Regions from separate parts of the Homo sapiens genome. Here all the other regions are linked to region 1. Evidence: promoter capture Hi-C in 16 types of primary human blood cells and fetal thymus (Javierre and others, 2016). All regions are on one chromosome and are shown on one strand. Each heading gives the region's core, a stretch centred on a gene start or on the middle of the fragment in contact. The rest is flanking DNA. Distances are from core to core; before and after follow the strand shown.

What was found. The method cuts DNA at HindIII sites, captures the fragments that hold promoters and counts their contacts. A CHiCAGO score of 5 or more calls a contact.
Region 2: a contact is called between a fragment that was not itself captured here and the fragment with the promoter of SRP19 in region 1, in 1 of 17 cell types (fetal thymus). The highest score is 5.4, in fetal thymus.
Region 3: a contact is called between a fragment that was not itself captured here and the fragment with the promoter of SRP19 in region 1, in 1 of 17 cell types (fetal thymus). The highest score is 7.2, in fetal thymus.
Region 4: a fragment that was not itself captured here is called in contact with the fragment with the promoter of SRP19 in region 1 in 1 of 17 cell types (fetal thymus); the score reaches 5.1 in fetal thymus.

Annotation. Positions count from the first base shown.
Region 1 is chr5:112,858,628-112,863,749 of GRCh38, reverse strand. It overlaps SRP19 (signal recognition particle 19), which reads right to left and starts at 2,463. Exons shown (of 5, transcript NM_003135.3): 1 at 2,333-2,463; 2 at 1,167-1,242. The coding sequence starts at 2,373. RefSeq lists enhancers at 2,166-2,465, 2,566-2,645, 2,404-2,698. The HindIII fragment of the contact is 2,166 bases long and covers 449-2,614 here.
Region 2 is chr5:115,163,395-115,168,516 of GRCh38, reverse strand. It overlaps TRIM36 (tripartite motif containing 36), which reads left to right. Exons shown (of 10, transcript NM_001300759.2): 2 at 4,765-4,999. Among named protein-coding and RNA genes, the nearest start is that of TRIM36, 4.0 kb to the left of the region's middle. The HindIII fragment of the contact is 4,022 bases long and covers 1,022-5,043 here.
Region 3 is chr5:110,723,076-110,728,197 of GRCh38, reverse strand. TMEM232 (transmembrane protein 232) reads left to right here and starts at 1,527. Exons shown (of 14, transcript NM_001039763.4): 1 at 1,527-1,571. The HindIII fragment of the contact is 1,192 bases long and covers 1,824-3,015 here.
Region 4 is chr5:110,742,921-110,748,042 of GRCh38, reverse strand. SLC25A46 (solute carrier family 25 member 46) reads right to left here. Exons shown (of 8, transcript NM_138773.4): 3 at 4,256-4,313; 4 at 1,697-1,774. Among named protein-coding and RNA genes, the nearest start is that of SLC25A46, 6.5 kb to the right of the region's middle. The HindIII fragment of the contact is 6,336 bases long and covers 1-4,978 here.

The sequences.
Region 1 (5,122 bases), core at 1,214-3,713:
GAGCCTGCAGTGCGCTGAGACTACACTGCCGCACTCCAGCCTGGGTGACAGAGCCAGACCCTGTCTCTTAAAAAAACAAACAAAAAAGAAGGTAGAAAAGACTTTGGCATACTCACACCATGCGATACTATAGAGGAGACAGGGCAGTAGTTTTGAGCAGGGAAATTCTGTCCTCAGCCTCCCTACCCCTACCCACACACAAAAGACATCTAGCAATGCTTGGAGACATTTTTGATTGTCACAACTAGGGGATGGGGGGCTGGAGGGGGCTGACCTGTCATCTAGTGGGTAGAGGCCAGGGATACTGCTGAACATCTTAAAATGCACAGAACAACCCCCAACAACAATTATCTAGCTCAAATCGGCAATGGTGCTGCTATTGACAAACCCTGTTATAGAGCAATGAAAATTCAACTACATTCAAATATGTAGGTAAATCTCAAAAGCTTAAAGTTCAGTGAAAAAAAGATACAAAATTACATAGTGTGTAATTCCATTTACAGAAAACTGAAAAAGCAGCAAAAGTAATCTATGGTGTTGAAGTCATAACGGTGGTCATCCTGGTATTTTTGAGCATATGCGGAGGCGACAGTGACTGAGAGGGAACATAAAGCAATCTTCCTGGATGCTTGTAGTGTTTTCTTTTTTGAGTGCTTGTTACCACCCAGATGTACTCATCATGGGAGAATTCACTGCATCAAACCTAGGTGTCTTAAATCTGTCATATTACAAAATACAAATGACACTTTAATAAAACTCAACAGGGCTGAACTTTCTGCATGTCTTCTTCACACACTTAAAAAAATCTCAACTACATTCTGAACATTATTAATGTATCGTACAATGTCATAATTTTGATTTCCTATATCAAGGGAAACACCGTCATAACCTTTGTTTTAAAAACATGTGAACTCTACACTCTGCCCCCACTCCTTTACAAACAAAGGCTCATTAAGAGACGTTAAAAAAATATCCCTTCAGCTATGAATTAATGCCTTTCTGGTTTCACCAACACTGAGGAACGCACCCCAATTCTTGGCTGTGTTCTCAAGCCCTAAATAAATGCAGTGAAGAGAACCCCCTGCGGCTCTAACAAGATTACGTGGCCCGACCAGGATGACACCCCCCATTCCCTCGAGGATCAAGGTGCCAGCCATCTTGCTTACCTTACTTATGGGGATTCGCCTTCCCTCTGCGATGGTCTTCTTATTATTTAAATAAGCAGGATAGATACAAATAAACCTGCCATAGACAATAGCATAAGTGGTATCACTAGAGCAGTAAGAGGCAGGAGAAAAGGGTCGGGTGGCAGGGAACCAAAGGCCAATTCATGCTGCCTAGATATCAGATGGGTACTCCCTTTTCAACCCCTCCTTTTTCTGCGTGGCAGTTGAAAAATCAAAGTACCTCGGAGTGGTCCCCTCGAGCAACTAATCAGACTGGCCGCGGGCCTACTCCTCTTTCTGATTGATCCCCCTCCCTCAACCAATCAGACTGGCACAGGTCAATGGGAAACGTCTAGAGGGTATTTAAACCCTAGAAAATTCTGTAACCAACAGCTCTTGGGTAGCTTGCTGGAGCCGGCTCCCACCCTGTGGAGTGTACTTTTGTTTAAAATAAATCTGCTTTCGCTGCCTTGCTTTGTGTGTTTTGTTCAATTCCTTATTCAAAACGCCAAGAACCTGGACAACTACACTCAACAGATAACAAGTATTTTCAAAAATACATTCTTTCGGTCCGTGGTAGTCGTCATCATTGCTGGTACACCTATGCTATTATTTGCTTAATGTTATTTCTTTAAATTACCTCACTTTAACTTATTTAAAAATAAACTTTATCCACTACCTTGGATGGAAAAAAACCACAGGAATAGAAACAAAACGACTTGGGTAACTGTTACATTAGACAGAGCAGCCCGTCAAAAGTTCCTGAGAATGGGCCCGCCCTCTTATATAAAGTGTCCGAGGTATTAAAAACCTTAAAATTTCACAAATGAGCCTTTCTGAACGCAACAATACTTAAAAAGAACACATTTCTCACACTGTGATTATATTACTTGATATCATGTCCACGTAGCACCCAAAATCCTTGTCTCGCGTACAGATAAACACTAGGCTACCTATGGTCGGAATTTCAGGAGCCCTGAGAAGAGCCTGGTGGCTGCTGCAGGATTCAGAAAAACGAGCTGCCAGGGAGAGGCGCGGGGCCCGTACAGAGCGAGTTGGATCAGCTAGGCCATTCTGGAGGCCGCGGAGCGGAGAAGCGCGGTGTAGCACCTGCAGCACCACAGCAAGCCCCTTCCTTTCGGAGGACCCACCGCCTCAGAACCCACCTGTCCTGGTCGGCCGGGGACCGCGCGGCAGCGCAAGCCATCTTCACAAGAGTCTCAACAACCCAGGAGCCGCAGGGAGAAACCCGGCAGAAACCCGGGAGGAACCCGGCTCTGAGTTTCCGAGACAGCCCGCTTTTCCGCCGGAAGTCCTGCCCAAGAAATGGTTCCGCGTCCGCGATTTCTCATCGCCTGTTTGTTCCGGCACCTGTCGCTCGGCGCCAGGATCTCTAGTCTCTGACGTGGCATGAAGACTTCCCTTCTCGCGAGAGAATCATGAAAGCTTCTCATTCCTTTCCCAAGCCGGGAAGACCATGTGGGGCGCATGCACCGCCACTAAAAAGGGTTTAACTTCGACCCTCCCTCGTTTCCAGTTTCTCAGCGAGTATGGGTGGTACTAGCTACTCTCTGTTAAGGGGCGAAGACTGTGCCACGAGGGGAATCTGTGTGGTTCAGGATGCAAATATATGTTAGACAGGGAAGGAAATACTCCTTACGTTTAATTTTTCTCCGTTCCTGGGCTCTAGAGCTTGCTTTCAGTTTGGCAAAATGGATTTTTGTAGTGGTAGAACTAGCAAAGTTATAGACGTTGTGTTTCAGTGTGCTCTGCGTTAGAAACTTAGCTATTCACCTTTTAGGCCGGGTGCGGTGGCTCACGCCTGTATCCCAGCACTTTGGGAGACTGAGGCAGGTGGATCATGAGGTCAGGAGTTGGAGAGCAGCCTGGCCAACATGCTGAAACCCCGTCTGTACTAAAAATACAAAAATTAGCCGAGTGTGGTGGCACACGCCTGTAATCCCAGCTACTCGGAGGCTGAGACAGGAGAATCACTTGAACCCAGGAGGTGGAGGTTGCAGTGAGCTGAGATCACACCACTGCACTCCAGCCTGCGTAACAGAGCAAGACTCCGTCTAGGAAAAACGAAACAAAACTATTCACCTTTTAAAACTTCTGAAGGATACCATGTGCCATCACTACAGGCATACTTCATTATTGCACTTCACTTGCTGCTGCGAGTAGATACTGCCTTTTTACAAATGGAAGGTTTTTGGCAAATCCGCCTGAAAGAAGTTGCTTGGTGCCATTTTTCCAGCAGCGTATACTTTGTGTCACATTTGGTAATTTTTGCAATATTTCAAACCTTTTCATTATTTCTGTTATGGTGATCGGTGATCAGTGATGTTTGCTGTTACTATTGTAATAGTTTTAAGGCCGGGTGCGGTGGCTCACGCCTGTAATCCCAGCACTTTGGGAGGCCGAGGCAGGTGGATCACGAGGTCAGGAGATAGACACCATCTTGGCCAACATGGTGAAACCCCATCTCTACTAAAATATAAAAAATAAGCCAGGCATGGTGGCACAGGCCTTTAGTCCCAGCTACTCGGGAGGCAGGGGAATCTCTTGAACCCAGGAGGTGGAGGTTGCAGTGAGCCAAGATCACACCACTGCACTCCAGCCTGGCGACAGTGCAAGACTCCGTCTCAAATAATAATAATGTTTTGGGGCACCATGAACCATGCCCAGATAAGATGGGGAACTTAATGGATAAATGTTGTGTATGTTTTAACTGTTCGACCAACTGGCCATTTCCCATCTCTCTCCCTCTTCTGGAGTCCCTATTCCCTGAAACACAACAATGTTGAAATTAGGCCAGTTAGTAACCCTACAATGGCCTCTAAGTATTCAAGTGAAAGGAAGAGTCACACGTCTCACATGTCAAAAGATGGAAATGATTAAGCTTAGTGAGGAAGGCATATGTAAGCCAAGATAGGCTGAAAGCTAGGCCTCTTGGCACCTAACAGCCAAGTTGTAAATACAAAGACAAAATTCTTGAAGGAATTAAAAGGAAATTACTTCAATAAACACACAAATGATCAGAAAGCAAAACAACCTTATTGCTGATATGGAGAAAGTTTTAGGGGTTTGGATAGAAGCTCAAACCAGTCACAACATTCCTTTAACCCAAAGCCTAATCCGAGCAAGGCCCTAACTCCCTTCAATTCTGTGAAGGCTGAGAAAGGTGAGGAAGCTTCAGAAGTGGGAAGCTAGTAGAGGGTGGTTCAGGAGGTTTAAGAAAGAATCCATCTCCATAACATATAACATAAAAGTGCAAGGTGAAGCAGCAAGTGCTGATAGAGAAGCTGCAGCAAGTTATCCAGAAAATGTAGCTAATATCATTGACGATGATCAATGATTAGCTAGTATCATTTAGTGGCTACACTAAACAACAGATTTTTCAATGTAGACAAAACAGTCTTCTATTGGAAAAAGATACCATCTAGGATGTAGCACCCAAAATCCTTGTCCCTTTGAGAGAAGTCAATGTCTGGCTTCAGAGCTGCCCCATTTAGTGGCTACACTAAACAACAGGTTTTTCAATGTAGACAAAACAGCCTTCTATTGGAAAAAGATGCCATCTAGGATGTAGCACCCAAAATCCTTGTCTCTTTGAGAGAAGAAGTCAATGCCTGGCTTCAAAGCTGCCAAGGACAGGCTGATTATCTTGTTAGGGAACAATGCAGTTGGTGATTTTAAGTTAAAGCCAATGGACATTTACCATGCAGAAAATCCTAGAGACCCTAGAATGATGCTAAATCAACTCTGCCTGTGTTCTCTAAATGGAACAACAAAGCCTGGATGACAGTACATCTGTTTACAGCATGGTTTACTGAACTATTTTTTTGAGACAGTCTCGCTCTGTCACCCAGGCTGGCATGCAGTGGCCCTATCACATCTCACTGCAGCCTTGACCTCCCACACTCAAGCAATCCTCCTACACAAGCCTCCTGAGT
Region 2 (5,122 bases), core at 1,783-4,282, 2.3 Mb before region 1:
CATTTTAAAATTTCATTACATTTAGTTAAGTCAATTTTAATTTTCTGTGTATTTCTAGTAGCTGAAATGATTGTACAAGGTTATAAGTACTTTGAAGTTGGGCTGTCTTTAAAATTGCAGGGATGCTGACTATAGGATTCATAGATATGAAGTCTGGGATACATGGAAAAAACTACGTAGAGAAATGATGGGGAAACTGGTATGAGGTCATCAAACTTTTTTAGTTGTGATGAGTCTAAAATGCTTCTCACTTAAAATAATGAAAGGCTGTAGTATTGAGAGCAGTTGTAGTGGTGCTTATACACCTTTTTAAAGGGTCCCCTACATTCTTTTAATATTCTGTTATGGTTAGGCTTTGTGTCCACACCCAAATCTCATCTTGAATTGTAATCCCCAGGTGTTGAGGGAGAGACCTGGTGGGAGGTGATTGGATCGTGGGAGTGGTTTCCCCCATGCTGTTTTCGTGATAGTGAATTCTCCCAATATCTGATGGTTTTATAAGGCAGTATTCTCTGTTCTTACTCCCTCTCGCCTGCTGCCATGTAAAACGTGCTTGCTTCCCTTCCTGCCATATTTGTAAGTTTCCTGAGGCCTCTCCAGCCATGCAGAACTGTGAGTCAATTAAATCTCTTTTCTTTATAAATTAGCCACTCTTGGGTATTTCTTTATAACACTGTGAAAAGGGACTAACACAGAGAATTGGTACCAAGGTAGTGGGCACTGCTGTAAAGATACCCAACAATGTGGAAGTGACTTTGGAACTGAATAACAGGCAGAGATTGGAACAGTTTGGAGGGCTCAGAAGAAGACAGGAAGATGTGGGAAAGTTTGGAACTTCCTAGAGACTTGTTGAATGGTTTTGACCAAAATTCTGCTAGTGGTATGGACAAAGAAGTGCAGGCCAAGGTGGTCTCAGATGGAGATGAGGAACTTGTCGGAAACTGGAGTGAAGGTGACTCTTGCTATGCTTTAGCAAAGAGACTGGCAGTGTTTTGCCCCTGTCCTAGAGATTTGTGAAGCTTTGAACTTGAGAGAGATGAAGCGGAGCGTAAAAGTTTGGAAAATTTGCAGCCTTACCATGGAGTAGAAAGGAAAAACCTATTTTCTGGGGAGGGATTCAAGCTAGCTGCAGAAATTTGCTTAAGTAAAAAAGACTCAAATGTTAATTGCCAAGACTATGGGTAAAATGTCTCCAGGACATGTCAGAGATCTTGGCAGCAGTCCCTCCGTTTGGCAGGGCCAAACAGGTGCATTAATGAAGAGAGCCCCATCACAGGCCTGGAGGCCTAGGAGAGAAAAATGTTTTAGTGGAGTGGGCCCAGGGCCCTGCTGCTGTGTGCAGCCTCGGTATCACAGGATCCTTAGGGTGTCGCTTCACCAGCCAGAAACCTCTGTGGCAAGTGTTGCCTTTGCCCAAGTTTTGCTCAGGCCCACTGGGCTTGTTCTGCCCACTTGACCCAGCAGGCTGTGCTTGGTTTTCACTACTGGCCCAGATCCCACGGCTGCCAACGGCAAGCCAGGTGCAGAGCAGCAAGGGGTGCATGAGTGAGCGAGCGCGGGGTACAGTGTGCACAGCCAGGCATGGTGGCTGTGGCGGGGCAGGCAGGTCCAGGTGCCAGTATGGGCGCCGGCTCCTTGCTGTGGCTGGAACAGGTGTACCACAAGTGGCTCCCACTACAAGCACTGTGGAACATGGTGGCACCCAGAAACTTGGAGATGCCGGCAACTGCAGAGCCACAAAGAGGATGTCACAGCCCTGGCTTGGGGAGCTCCTAAGTCCAGGCTCCCTGAAGGGCTGCAGCTCTTCTCTCCTCTCTTGTCTCCTCATCGTCACCCACAACATGGCGAGCAGCAGGGTGTATTTGACACAGTTTGTGTTACAGCTTGTTTGGTCCTGCCATTTGGCAGGTCCAGAGTTCCTGTACTGTGTCCAGGAAGAATGAGCTACATGGACAACTGGAGGGTGAACAAGGTGCTTTATTGAGCAAAAGAGTAGCTCTCAGGAGACCTGTCATGGGTAGCTGCTTTCTGCAGGCAGTTCCTCCCGACAACTGCAGCTCTCAGCAGAGAAGAGACCCGGAGTGGGTACCTCCTCTCTGCAGGCAGGTCATTTTGTCGAGTGTGCAGTCCTCAGTGGAGAGGAGACCCAAGTGGGTAGCTCTTACCTGCAGGCAGGTCGTCCTATCATCTGCCAGAGTCTGGCTGAGTTTGCGGTTTTTATGGGCTTCAGAGGGGAGGAAGTGTGTGCTGATTGGCCCATGGGTGGCCATGGGTGGGCCTGGAAAATTCACTGTAAGTTTTCACTCCAGTCAGTGGAACTGGCAGCCTGGACCCTAGGCTTCAGGCTATCCCTGGCTTGAAGGTGGGGTTTCAGCAGGGACCTGTCCCTTTCCTCCCAGGAGCCTGTCTCCCTCCCACTGCTGTTCATGGTGCCCAGACTGTTTTAGCTGAGGGACGCCTGCAGTACCACGTTGAGTCACCCTCAGCCCTGCCCTTGGCCTCCCTCCCACGTTCATCAGCGCCCAAAGTCCAGAGGGAGCTGAGGTGGCAGGGGGCTGGTGTGTCAGCATCTCCTCAAGCACACACACACCTGGCCAGGTCATGTCAGTGCCCGGGCTTGGCCACAGCTTTTCTCCAAAGTCAGAGTGGGCACTGGGAATGGGGAGAGGCCAAGCAGTAGGAGCAGGCACTTCTGAGCATGTGGGGGAAGAGAGGCATCCTGGGCCCCCGAGAGCATAGGAATGCCCTAGTCCACAGCTGGGTGGCTGCAATTGCACCCAGGAGCATGGGGCTCCCTCCGCACCAACTCGGAAGGGAGAAGGGCTCCTGCCTGTTCCTGGGTCCCGCTGGCTCTGCAGAGCAAGCAGGTCCGGCTGTGCCTTCCCAACTGCAGCCAGCATCTTTGCAGCAGCTGCTCCAGATGGGCTGCAGCTGCCATCACTGGGACTTGGTGCCCTGTGTCCCAGCTGTTCCAGTACCAGTTGTGGCTAAAAGGGGCCAAGGTACAGTTCAGACCATTGCCTCAGAGGGTGCAAGCCTTGGTGGCTTACACATGGTGTTGGGCCTACCAGTGCACAAAAGTCAAGAGTTGAGGTTTGGAAACCTCTGCCTAGATTTCAGAGGATGTACAGAAACACCTGGATATCCAGGCAGAAGTCTGCTGCAGGGGCGAAGCTCTCATGGAGAACCTCTGCTAGGGCAGTGCAAAGGGGAAATGTGAGATATAAGCCGCCACACAGAGTCCCCACTGGGGCACTCCCTAGGGGAGCTCTGAGAAGAGGACCATGGTCCTCCAGACCCCAGAATGGTAGATCCACCAACAGCTTTCATCATGCGCCTGGGAAACCTGCAGATACTCAATGCCAGCCATGAAAGCAGGTGGTGTGTGGGCTGTACCCTGCAAAGCCACAGGGGTGGAACTGCCCAAGGCCATGGCAGTCCACCCTTTGGATCAGCGTACCCTGAATGAGAGACATTGAGTCAAAGGAGATCTCACTTGTGAGCTTTATGACTTAATAACTGTCCTTTTGGGTTTCAGACTTTCATGGGACCTGTAGCCCCTTTGTTTTGGCCAATTTTTCCCATTTGGAATGGGAGCATTTGTCCAATGCCTGTACACCCATTGTATCCTGGAAGTAACTAACTTGCTTTTGATTCTCCAGGCCCCTAGGCAGAAGGGACTTGCTTTGTCTCAGATGAGACTTTGGACTTGGACTTTTGAGCTAATGCTGAAATGAGTTAAGACTTTGGGGGACTGTTTGGAAGCATGATTGGTTTTGAAATGTGAGGACATGAGATTTGGGAGGGGCCAGGGCCACAATGATATGGTTAGGTTCAAATCTTATCTTGAATTGTAATCCCAAGGTGTTGAGGGAGAGACCTGGTGGGAGGCCATTGAATCACAGGGGTAGATTTTCCCCATGCTGTTCTTGTGATAGCGAATTCTCATAAGATCTGATGGTTTTGTAAGGCAGTATCCCTGCTCTTGCTCTCTCTCACCTGCCACCACGTAACACAGATCTGCTTCCCCTTCTGCCATGATTGTAAGTTTCTTGAGGACTCCCTAGCCATGTGGAACTGTGAGTCACTTAAATCTCTTTTCTTTATAAATTACCCAGCCTCAGGTAATTTTCTTTATAGCAGTGTGAAAATGGACTAATACATACTCATAAAGTGCTTTTAAGATAATTGCTTTGATATACAGCATGAGAACCTCAGGCATTAATGAAGAATGGTCGCATTTAATGTAGAAAATTGCTGATAATTCAGCTTGTAAATAGATACCAACTAGGTTTCCATGAACATACTGACTCAGCTAGTGTTTAATAGCTCCTGTTATTTGTCAGTCACAGTGTTAATTCACTAAATAAGAATATAGTCTTACTCTTAGTGCTGTATTCAAAATTTTTATTGACATGATCTACTTTTAGGATTTCACCGAAGTCCTAAATCAGTGCACTGGTGATGGAGATTCGAATGATGGCTTTATAATTTTTGATAAAATATCATGGTCCCCTAATATTTTACATAATTTTTCTCTTCATTTTTGCCTTTTACTATCTCATGTTCCTTCAGTTCTGGGTTATGGGTGTTGAGGGCAGTTGATGGTATCAAATTTTATTGGGGAAAAGAAATTTAAAATTTAGAAAATCATTTTCTTAATTCTTTTTGGAAAAATAAACACATGTACTTATTCAGGAGGTATAAGAATGTTAATATATTTACCCACTAAGAGCCTTTAACTTGGACTATTTTACTCTCAAGGTTACCATTAAGAATATCGAAAGGGAGCTCATTTGCCCAGCATGCAAGGAGCTGTTTACCCACCCATTGATTCTCCCTTGCCAACATAGTATCTGTCATAAATGTGTAAAAGAACTCCTGCTGACTCTCGATGATTCATTCAACGATGTGGGATCAGACAACTCCAATCAAAGCAGTCCTCGACTTCGGCTCCCCTCCCCTAGTATGGATAAAATTGACCGAATTAACAGACCAGGTATGTGTTAGAACTGTGGGCTGGGATGGTAGTGGGGGTAAGCTTATAGATATATATTCAGTGGTAACTGGAAGGAAAATTATTTTTGTCATCTTGAGAGTTAATTTTTCCAGGTGAATAAAT
Region 3 (5,122 bases), core at 1,170-3,669, 2.1 Mb after region 1:
TATAAACTTGTTCTGTTGTCTTCACTGTAGAATCGATGGGGTGACTTTTTTTCTCTAAACATGCTATAGTTTCAACTGATTCTTATATTATGGAGAAGAATTTTTTATTCGGCCTTCCTTTTATTCCTTTTTAATTCAATCTTCATTTGATTATGAATAACCTGGTTAACAGTTTGTATTTTTTTATGCTTTTAACACTTTTCTAGATCTCTTGAAATTAAAACAAGCAAGCCCCCAGGCTATTATTAAATACCACAGTCTTTTCATTTTTATTTTATCTGGATTATGGTAAGCACTGTTGATATTCTAGGATTTGTTCTCTCACATATGTAGTTTATAGTCTTTGTCAATTTCACTTTTCATTATTACCTTTAACTTACTGATCTTCTAGGAGTGATACGTCAGAGAAGCCTGAGATCACATATTGTAATTTCTGTTTTAAACATAAAAATGCACTCAAAAAACAAAAAAACTTAATTCCGAATCGAAGTAGTTCAAGTTAAATTTTCTTTCAAAGTTCTAATTTTTAAAGGCAGGTCATTTCACAGGACAATCCCTGTATATTACGTTTTAGTATTTTTTTTTTCTTTAGATGGAATCTCGCTCTGTTTCCCAGGCTGGGGTGCAGTGGCATGATCTCGGCTCACTGCAACCTCCATCTCCTGGGTTCAAGCAATTCTCCTGCCTCAGCCTCCTGAGTAGCTGGGATTATAGGTGGGTGCCACCACGCCTGGCTAACTTTTGTATTTTTAGTAGAGACGGGTTTCACCATGTTAGCCAGGATGGTCTCGAACTCCTGACCTCGTGATCCGCCCACCTTGGCCTCCCAAAGTGCTGGGATAACAGGCATGAGCCACTGCGCCCGGCCTACGTATGAATTTAATCATAAATGCCCTTCCCCATTCTTCCATATAGTATTTTACACTGGTGAACCTTTGTAAAATATATACAGTTGCTCGTTAGTAGACATAGGAATTCTACAAGGATTTTTAAAGGACTTATATTAGATAATTCTATTGCATACTACCTTTAAAAAGAGGCGTTCTTTTGTGTTTAAATTCGCCCTCTGGTGTTTAGTACATAGCAGAACATTCTAGGTGCTTTGTTTACTCACTGACGGGTGCTGAGGACACTGACTGCTCCAAATTTTCTATGTAAAAGGAACTTACGAACGGCAATTTAATTTAAAGACATAGCTACTTTTGGTATGATAGGCGTGCTGGTTTGTTTTGGGGAAGCAGCATTAAGACACTGAGGAGACATTAAAGCACTGTGAAGCCGCTTCTTGCCGTGGCTTCTTGCAGGATATGCAAGTATGTACAATATTCGAAACAAATCATTACTATGTTCTTTAAAAACGAATAAAGGTCTTTCACACAACATTGCATTTATTCTTTAGAAATTGAACACAAATGTGGTGGAGACGGGACAGGGCAGGTGGAAATTCACTTATAAGTCCTGATTGGCTAAGCCCTGGTCACGAGACCGTAAAAGAGCAACGTCTGTCTCAGAGCGACTCCCACAGCGTCCTTAGCAACCAGCCTTGGTTCCCAGCGGCTCAGAGCGCAGCGGTGAGTGATTAAGAGGTCCTGCTTCAGATGATTTGGGAGCTCAGGTTATTGTCATATTCACCATCCTAGGGCAACTGAAAGACCCACAAAGATCCTCACAGGGGAATACTGAGCCTCCTTTCTCAGGGTGCCATAGCTTTGTTAGAAGAAACACTACTCGCAACCCCAGGCTGGGCCTGCTATCTGGGCCCCTCCTAAGAGTCTAAGCAGTCCATCCTGGAAAAGCCACCAGGTCGTTTGATAGGGGAAGCTTTTTTGTTGGGGAGAATAAAGGAGGTGGGAACTTTCTTATTGCTATGAATAGGGAAATTCATTTAATCTCCCCTGGACTCGCTTATCCTGGGGCAACCTTGAATTCAGAAGACCAGTCTTCACACATCCTCTGTGGTTGGTGAAATTGCACCTTTTTGATTTTTATTTATTTATTATTTATTTAGTATGAAGACTCTTGGACTTCAAAAGAGAAGGTTCAAAAATTTGGCGCTCTGTGTGTGTGTGTGTGTGTGTGTGTGTGTGTGAAAGAGAGAGGGGGGTATATTGGAGATGTGTAATAAAACAATTTTTAAAAGCCGTTAATCTTGAGAAAAATATCCAAGTTGTCTATTAGAAAAATTTCTAGGAGGGGATAAGACTGTAGTAAGAGTCTCTTATTTACCTTACCATCTTAACAGTATGTCTGAACAAATTCTATCATTTGGTTGGTCAAATAATTTGCTTCCTCAGGTTAGAGTCTAAATCTTATATTCTCTAATGCATGTTACCTTTCCAAAGTCTTGATATAATTTTAATATTATCTGTTTTTCAGAAATTGTCTTTTAAAGTATACAGTTTCAACCTCATTTTTATTGGAACTTTAAAAAAATACATGAAGAATTAATAGTAAAACTAAAAAAAGAAATCTGGGTCTGTGCCAGGTTGCAGATGAACTGCCAAGCACCCAGGCAGACTGCTGGAGCCATTTCATGAGCTGAAACATTTCTCTTTAAAGTATAAACATTCTTGGTTTGGGTAATCCACATACATACTTGATTGAAGGTAGCAGATTTTTATTTCACTAAGACCTATTCTGCATGGACCCTTATGATCTTAATGAGTAGTGCTATATTCTTGCTGAACGTCTGATTCATTATCAGAATCATTCATTGTTATGATAAATTTGATAAATGTTCCTGTCTTGAAGTTCATTGTCCATCCAGAGCTCCTGGTAAAGTGTCTGCTCACAAATGCTTAACATTTTCCAAAATGTGTCCTGTATGTAGTTCTAGGAGATGATGTTCTAAAGATTTCTTTAGTCAATAAATTTTAAAGTACTACATGTCACACTGCTACTCAGAGAGATGTAGAGTATATATGAGAATATTAACACTGAGAAATCTTAGTATATGCAAACCTACTTATTTTTGTCTAATCCAGTGGTTTCTCAAACATTTCACAACAGAAAGCTTTTCGAGGTAGTTTCATCCCAAGAAGCAGTATTTTACAGAATGTATTTTAGAAATTAATGTTCTAAACTATATATCACACTTTTTATTTTTGCTTATATTTCCATAAAACCAAATGAATTCATTTCTTTAAAATGTTTCCTGCTGATTCATTACAATACCAAAGAAAACAAATCTCTTTAAAAAATATACCACCTTAGTAAATTATTTTATTCCTATTACTTTCATTGCGTTTTCAACAGTAATATAATAAATCACTTGCTAAATCTATATCGACTTTAGGATTACTAGCTTCTTACTATAACATGGCAAGTTTTTTTGTTGAAACCATATTTTTAACATTATAATATTTATTATGTAGCAGGTGCTCTATACCTATCTGGTGAATGAATAAATAAAAGATAATTGATTTCTTTTTTAGAGTTCCTTTCTGCAGAAGACTAGTCATTTAACTATTTGGTGAATGAATAAATAAAAATAGTTGATTTATCTTTTAGGATGCCTTTCTGCAGAAGGCCAGTTAAATGATCTTAACAGTAGTCCACCAGAAAAATGATGAGAACCTAATCTCATGGCAGTGGCCGTGATCTAGGATTTGATTCCTGATTGTTTTGGGAAGTTATAGAGAGCATGGAATTGAGGATAACTCTGAAATTTCTAGCTTGTCAGTTTGAGTGATTATATTAACTGAGATTTATTAAAATAATACTGGATTAAGAGCAGTGTTTAGGGACCTGAAATGAGAAAATAACAGGTTAAGTTATACACAGTTTAGATGTTTCAAGTACTCGTCTTTGAGCTGGGTGCCCAGAATTCAGTTGGAAAACAAATCTAGAGCTCAAGAGAGGTCAAGATTGGAGGCAGCTGCTTGGGAGTCATTGTTCTACAGTGTGGTTTACAGTATAGGGATGGATGGCATCAACTCCAGAGAGGTGAGAATATGAAGAGAAGGGTATTCTGGCCACAGGACTGATGTGAATATCGAAAGATATAAAGTATGTGAAAGTACTTTGCAAACAATAAAGTCCCATGCAAGAGTTATTATTATTACATCCCAGAAGGCTTACTGAAGAAATAGGTTTGAACTAGGGTTTTCAGGAAGGTGTGAGATATCCTAGGATTGTATTTGATGGAATATAACAGAAACTCGTCTCCAACAACTTGACTGTGGTTCATCTCTAATGCCATAAATGTTCCAGGCTTCTGTCTTTGTGTCCCATCATCTTTGTATGTGGTTTTCATCTTCCTGGTCATCTCTTGATAGCAAGGTGACTGCTCTATCACCATTCTTATGTCTATCATCCAGGGAGGTAAAAGAAATTGGGAAGGGACAAGGAAGAAGGTACTGTGCCTCTATCATGAAAGTAAACTTTACCAACATCCCCTACTAAGCTTTAGCTAGAACTCATAGTTGCAAAGAAAGCTTCAGGAGAAATGTTTTTTAGCCAGAGACTTTGCTGCTCCAAACAAAATTAGGGTTGCTTTAATAAAACAATGGAAGAGTGAATATTGGATAGGAAGCTAGTGGTACCAAGAGATATAGCAGTCCCTAGGAGTATAGATGATAATGTATATAGGGAGAGTTGTGTAAACAGAAGTAATGCTTTGCTAATAGCTAACAGTCTATACAGATTTTGAGATTTTCAGGATACTCATTTAGAGTCTAATTTAAACATAATGGTACCCATGGATAATAATCTCAGTAGGCCCCCAAATATAAACAACTTGTGATCAATGTACTAGCCAAGAAGTAGCCATGATTTATTATATTTGAACTCTATTACATTGATACAAAAATATAATAGATATTTTGCCAAACAGGAAAGCACACAGCCCCACCTGTCTCTTACATTTGAGGTATGTTTCTGATTGAACACATAGACTTCAGGTTATGTGTCAACTGGTCTAATGCCTTAAAGGAATTTCAATTAAAAACAATAACCACTGCCAAAACTCACAAAGGAGAAAATAGATAATCTGAATAGACCTATAACTATTAAAGAAATGGAATCAATAATTAATAGCCTTCCAAAACAGAAAGTACCAGGCCCAGATAGGTTCACTGGTGAATTTTACCAAACATTTAAGGAAGAAATTATATCAATTATC
Region 4 (5,122 bases), core at 561-3,060, 2.1 Mb after region 1:
TAGTAGAGAACTACAATTAATTTTATATCATTTTAAAGTTATACTTAGGCCAAGAAGAACATTCCTATTAATTAAAACCCCTAATGATTAACTAATTTATTAAATATCCCTAATATCTATATATTCAACTCCCTACTAGTCCTGTCCTGTGGATGACACAAGGTAACTTGAAACTTACATATCCACAACTTAACCCAATCATACTCACTCATACCACACCAATTCTTTCCTTCTCTGCTGTATTTCCTATTTCCCTAGATAGCAGCTTCATCATCCTAGTGTCCAAACAATATATCTAGAAAACATTTTTATCTCACTCTTCCTATCTAATCAGTCCCCAGGTTCTACAAATTCTACTCCCTTAGTATCTTACAAATCCATGCTCTTCTCCATACTTAACACTATTACTTTATATCAATTTGACTACAAGTTTCACTGTCTCTGGTTTTGCCCCTTTGCATGATACCATCAGTAATACTCCTATTATTTATCTATATTATCTATATTATTAATAGATATACATGATAGAATTAAAAAGAAGCAATAGGGTATCAGCTGAAAAGTCTGTCTCCTTTTCATCCCAGTCCTCAGCAGCAGTTTTAAAATTTATCGGGATAATCCATGCATATACAAGTATATCTGTGTGTGTATGTTATAGAAATATTTTTGTTTTGCTTATTTTTAACAGGTAGTATTATCTTGAAACATAAAAAATATCCTGGAGATCATTCCACATTAGTATACACAGAGCTACCCTCTTATTTTTAAAGGTTACAAGGTGTTTCACCATAATATACCATAATTATTTCACTGGTACCCTAGTGATGGACATTTAATCATTTCCAGTCTATTATATGCAATGTCATAGGACATCCTTGTATATATATTTTTGCATATATATGTGCACATCTATGTGGGATAAGTTCCTGGAAGTGAAAGAACATGTACATTTTAAATTTTAATAGATATTGCCAAACAATCCAAAGGTCTTCAAGATATTTTGGTCATGGCTAAAACACCTTCAACAGTACTCTTGTAGCTTTTAAGATCTAGTAGTGTGCAGTTCTTAGAAGGTGCTTTAGAATCTGGATCCTGCTTACTTCTCTGGCTACTTTTTCATCTTTCTCTTACTCTTCAACCCCCACTTCAAGCTCCCATTGTACTCCATTAAATCCATTCCCAAACATTATGATCTCTCTTTGTCTTCTGCCTTCACACGTCTACTTTAAAAACCTTTTCTCTATCCTCATCATGAAGAGTCAGACTTCTCAACAAGAAGCACACAATTCGGGCCTTTCTTTTCCCAAAGTTTTTCCCAGCCATACACTGTGCCCAAGCCCAGTTTTGATAAGGTACTTCTCTTTTGTATTCTGACAGCATTCTGTACTTCTAATATTGCCTTTATCTTACTGCAGCACAATCTTCAAAGATTTTGTCTCCATGAATAAATATGAGCCTCTTGATAGCAGAGACATCATCTTAGCACAGCTCTTTGTGGTTTTGCTAAATTAAATTGTACTTTTGCTAAATTACATTTTGAAAGATTCAAAAACATATCGTTGTGCTACTTTAGTTTTACTACAACAGTTAAGATGTTTTATTGACCAAACTGAAAGTAATTATTCTTGCTTTAATGATTACTAAACCCAAATGACACTTATATAAACCTTTAATAGAATCCAGACAAAATTCTCACCTGAGTTTTGTTGAAACTGTACATAATATTGATGACTGTAAATGGAGTGAGATGGTAATGCTGAGCATGGTAATTAACCTGTAAAAAAGATATTTCATTATTTTTTTCTGTTAATGTTTTGTCAAGAAATAACAGAGCCATGAAAGAAATATGGTGGAATTGCAGTATAAACAAAAGTTAATTCCAAAGTCAACATAAATTACACATAAGCAAAATTACTCTTAAAAGTGCTTTAAATAACCTATTAAAAGTACAGTATGTATGGTTATATAAATACAATCTGAAGACCAATGCATAATACACACAGTACTGTAGACTATATAATAAAGAGGGTCTTATTTGATATTTGGTTTGCCTTAAACAACTGAATTACATCTCCCAACTCATGTTCATTTTAGGCAAGCATTTTTCAAACTGTACTTGGCAACTGACTGGTATATGAAATCAACTGGGGGAGTGTCAAAACAATATTTATTATGTGAAACAATAAAATATTAGAATGTATTACATTCTAATGGTATTATTTCATAAAACATTTAAAAATAATATATTTGTTACTTATATGTAATGTATCCATTGGATCTCCATGTTAATATTACTACAATGTAAAATATATATCTGAAATACACTGTTCTGTGGCACATACAGTCAATGCTACTTTAATGGTATTTCTGTATACATACTTTTCAGTGCTAAGCATGAACAGATTAATTTATAATGATTTATACTGTTTTGAACTCTAACAGCTAACAAATACAGGAAGCATTACTTTACAGAGAAAGTGGGTTATAACAGGACGGGCGCAGTGGCTCACACCTGTAATCCCACCACTTTGGGAGGCTGAGGCGGGCGGATCATGAGGTCAGGAGATCGAGACCATCCTGGCTAACACGATGAAACCCCGTCTCTACTAAAAATACAAAAAATTAGCTGGGCACGGTGGCGGGCTCCTGTAGTCCCAGCTACTCGGGAGGCTGAGGCAGGAGAATGGCGTGAACCCAGGAGGCGGAGTTTGCAGTGAGCCGAGATCATGCCACTGCACTCCAGTTTGGGCAACAGAGCGAGACTCCGTCTCAAACAAACAAAAAAAAAAAGTGGGTTATAACAGAGTTTGCAAGTGGGGTCCACTGACTCCTGAGGGCCCCATTACCCTTTCAGGGGCTTGACAAGTTCAAAATTATTTTCCTAGTGATTACTAAGATATAATTTCCTTTTTTCACTGTCTTGACATTTTCACTAATGGTACAAAAGCAATGGTAGGTAAAACTCCCAGCTCATTAGCACAAATTGAGGCAGCACCATCAAACTGTATTTTCGTACTTACAGTAATTTTTCACCTCATTTACCCATAGAGAGAAAAAAGCAACCTTCATATAGTAATATCCTTGACAATGAAGTAACAAAATGTTAATTTTATGAATCCTTGACCTTTGAGTACACATCCTCTTTCTAATTAATATCCTGTGTGTTACATAAGGAAGTAAGATTGCTGTCATGAGGAAAGCACTTGTATGATAGAACTGCAAGCTAAACTAGCCACTTTTTTCACGGAACATCATTTTTACTTAGAAAAACTCATTGACGGACTATACCTATTCACTTTCAGGACAGACATATTTTAAAAAATAAACAAAGTGAGATTGTTGATTAAAACAAAAATAAATAACAGTATTTACTGTCAATGATAAGTTTGAATTTTCAACTAAAACTCAGAATTTTGGAAAATCTATATGCATCGTCAAGAGCTGACAATACTTATAGACTTTTCTAGTGAGATCAGTAGTATTTTTAATGAAGATGATTTTTTGATATTTTATAATCAAATGTTTTAACAACAGGAAGATCTATGTAACTCAATTGGTCAATATTTTTCAAATAACTTATGCACAATTACATGGAATCAGGCATAAGTAAAAATATCTATTCAAGATGCAGTATAGTTAAATGGATTTTTTAATGTAACAAAGTATAAAAAGTTCACTAAAATGATTTCTGATTTCACATTGCAAATAACCTTTAAGAAACTGCGACACAGTGAGTTTTGGTGCAATTGCAAAGAATACCCACAATTATCTCAAAAGAATATAATATACTCCTCTCCTGCTTTCAACTATACATGTGTACAAGACTAAACTTCCTTGCTTCTTTCAAAAACCACGTGATGCAACAGATTGACTGCAGAAGCATACGAGAGAAACTGGCTCTCTCCTATTATGTCAGATATTAAAGATATTTGCAAAAATGCAAAATAGTTACTTTCATAAAAACATATTATCTTACTAACAGGTGTTATTATTTTAATGAATTATATAGATGCATTGAAATTTTCCCAATTTTAATTTCTGAAATGGTAACTATCAATAGATATGACCAACATAAACCAAAGTTATTTAGGATCCTCAATATTTTTTTAAGACTTTAAAGAGGTTTTGAGACCAAAAAGTTTGGAACATTTCACATGAAGTAACAATTACCTGGTTTCATGTCATTTATGTGAGTTCTGCCCTTCATATTAGGGTCAGAAGTATTGCTTCAAAAGATCACAGAAATTACATTTACCTGACATTGGCGGCGTAGAACAATGCAAGGATGTGCCAATACATTTTCTGTAAAGAGACTATATAAAAATAATTTATGTATATGTATGTCTACATAGAGATAAATTAAATTTACAACAGGTATCTTTCTGAAATTATTCTTGCCTGAAGAATCATGCATTATTTTATGTTTTCCATTCTTAAACAAATTAAATAGATCTTTAAAAATGTCTAGAAATGTTTGCAAATGATTCTACCCATAACGAAATTCAATATGAAAAGAATGAAAACCAGATCTGCATACTAGTAAATAAGGGAAACAATACATAATACATAATATTAATGTCTATAGTATAAGATGAAACTAGATCTCTGAATGTTTAATGTGGGAAATGGCACATCAATTAAATGGCATTTAATGCTGCAAATTATTTCTTTCAGAAAATGTCCTAATAACAGAATTCCTATCAGCAGAGTCATTTGATCTTCATGAACCCCATTCTAAAAATGTTTGGTTTTGGTGCACTTAAATTATAAGGTTTAAGTATAAATTTAAGTATAAATCTTAAATTATAAGATTCTTAATGACCATGTTAATTGACTAATATTTATGTATCAAATATTTATTTTGAGAATGTGCCCCACAAAACAATTACAGCTGTGGGTTTCAGGTCTCAGAGTGACATATACATACATGTGCACACATATTTATATGTAATAATAGTCTATCAAATGAATCAAAGCTTTAAGTATAAATATTGAAGCAAAAAACAACTCCAGCAGAATGGAAAACACAGATTTTATTTATATTGACATTAACACCCTCGGGTTTAATTATGCAAATAAGGTGTTTTTCTTCGTTAAAATGTTTAAAATAATGATCATTATG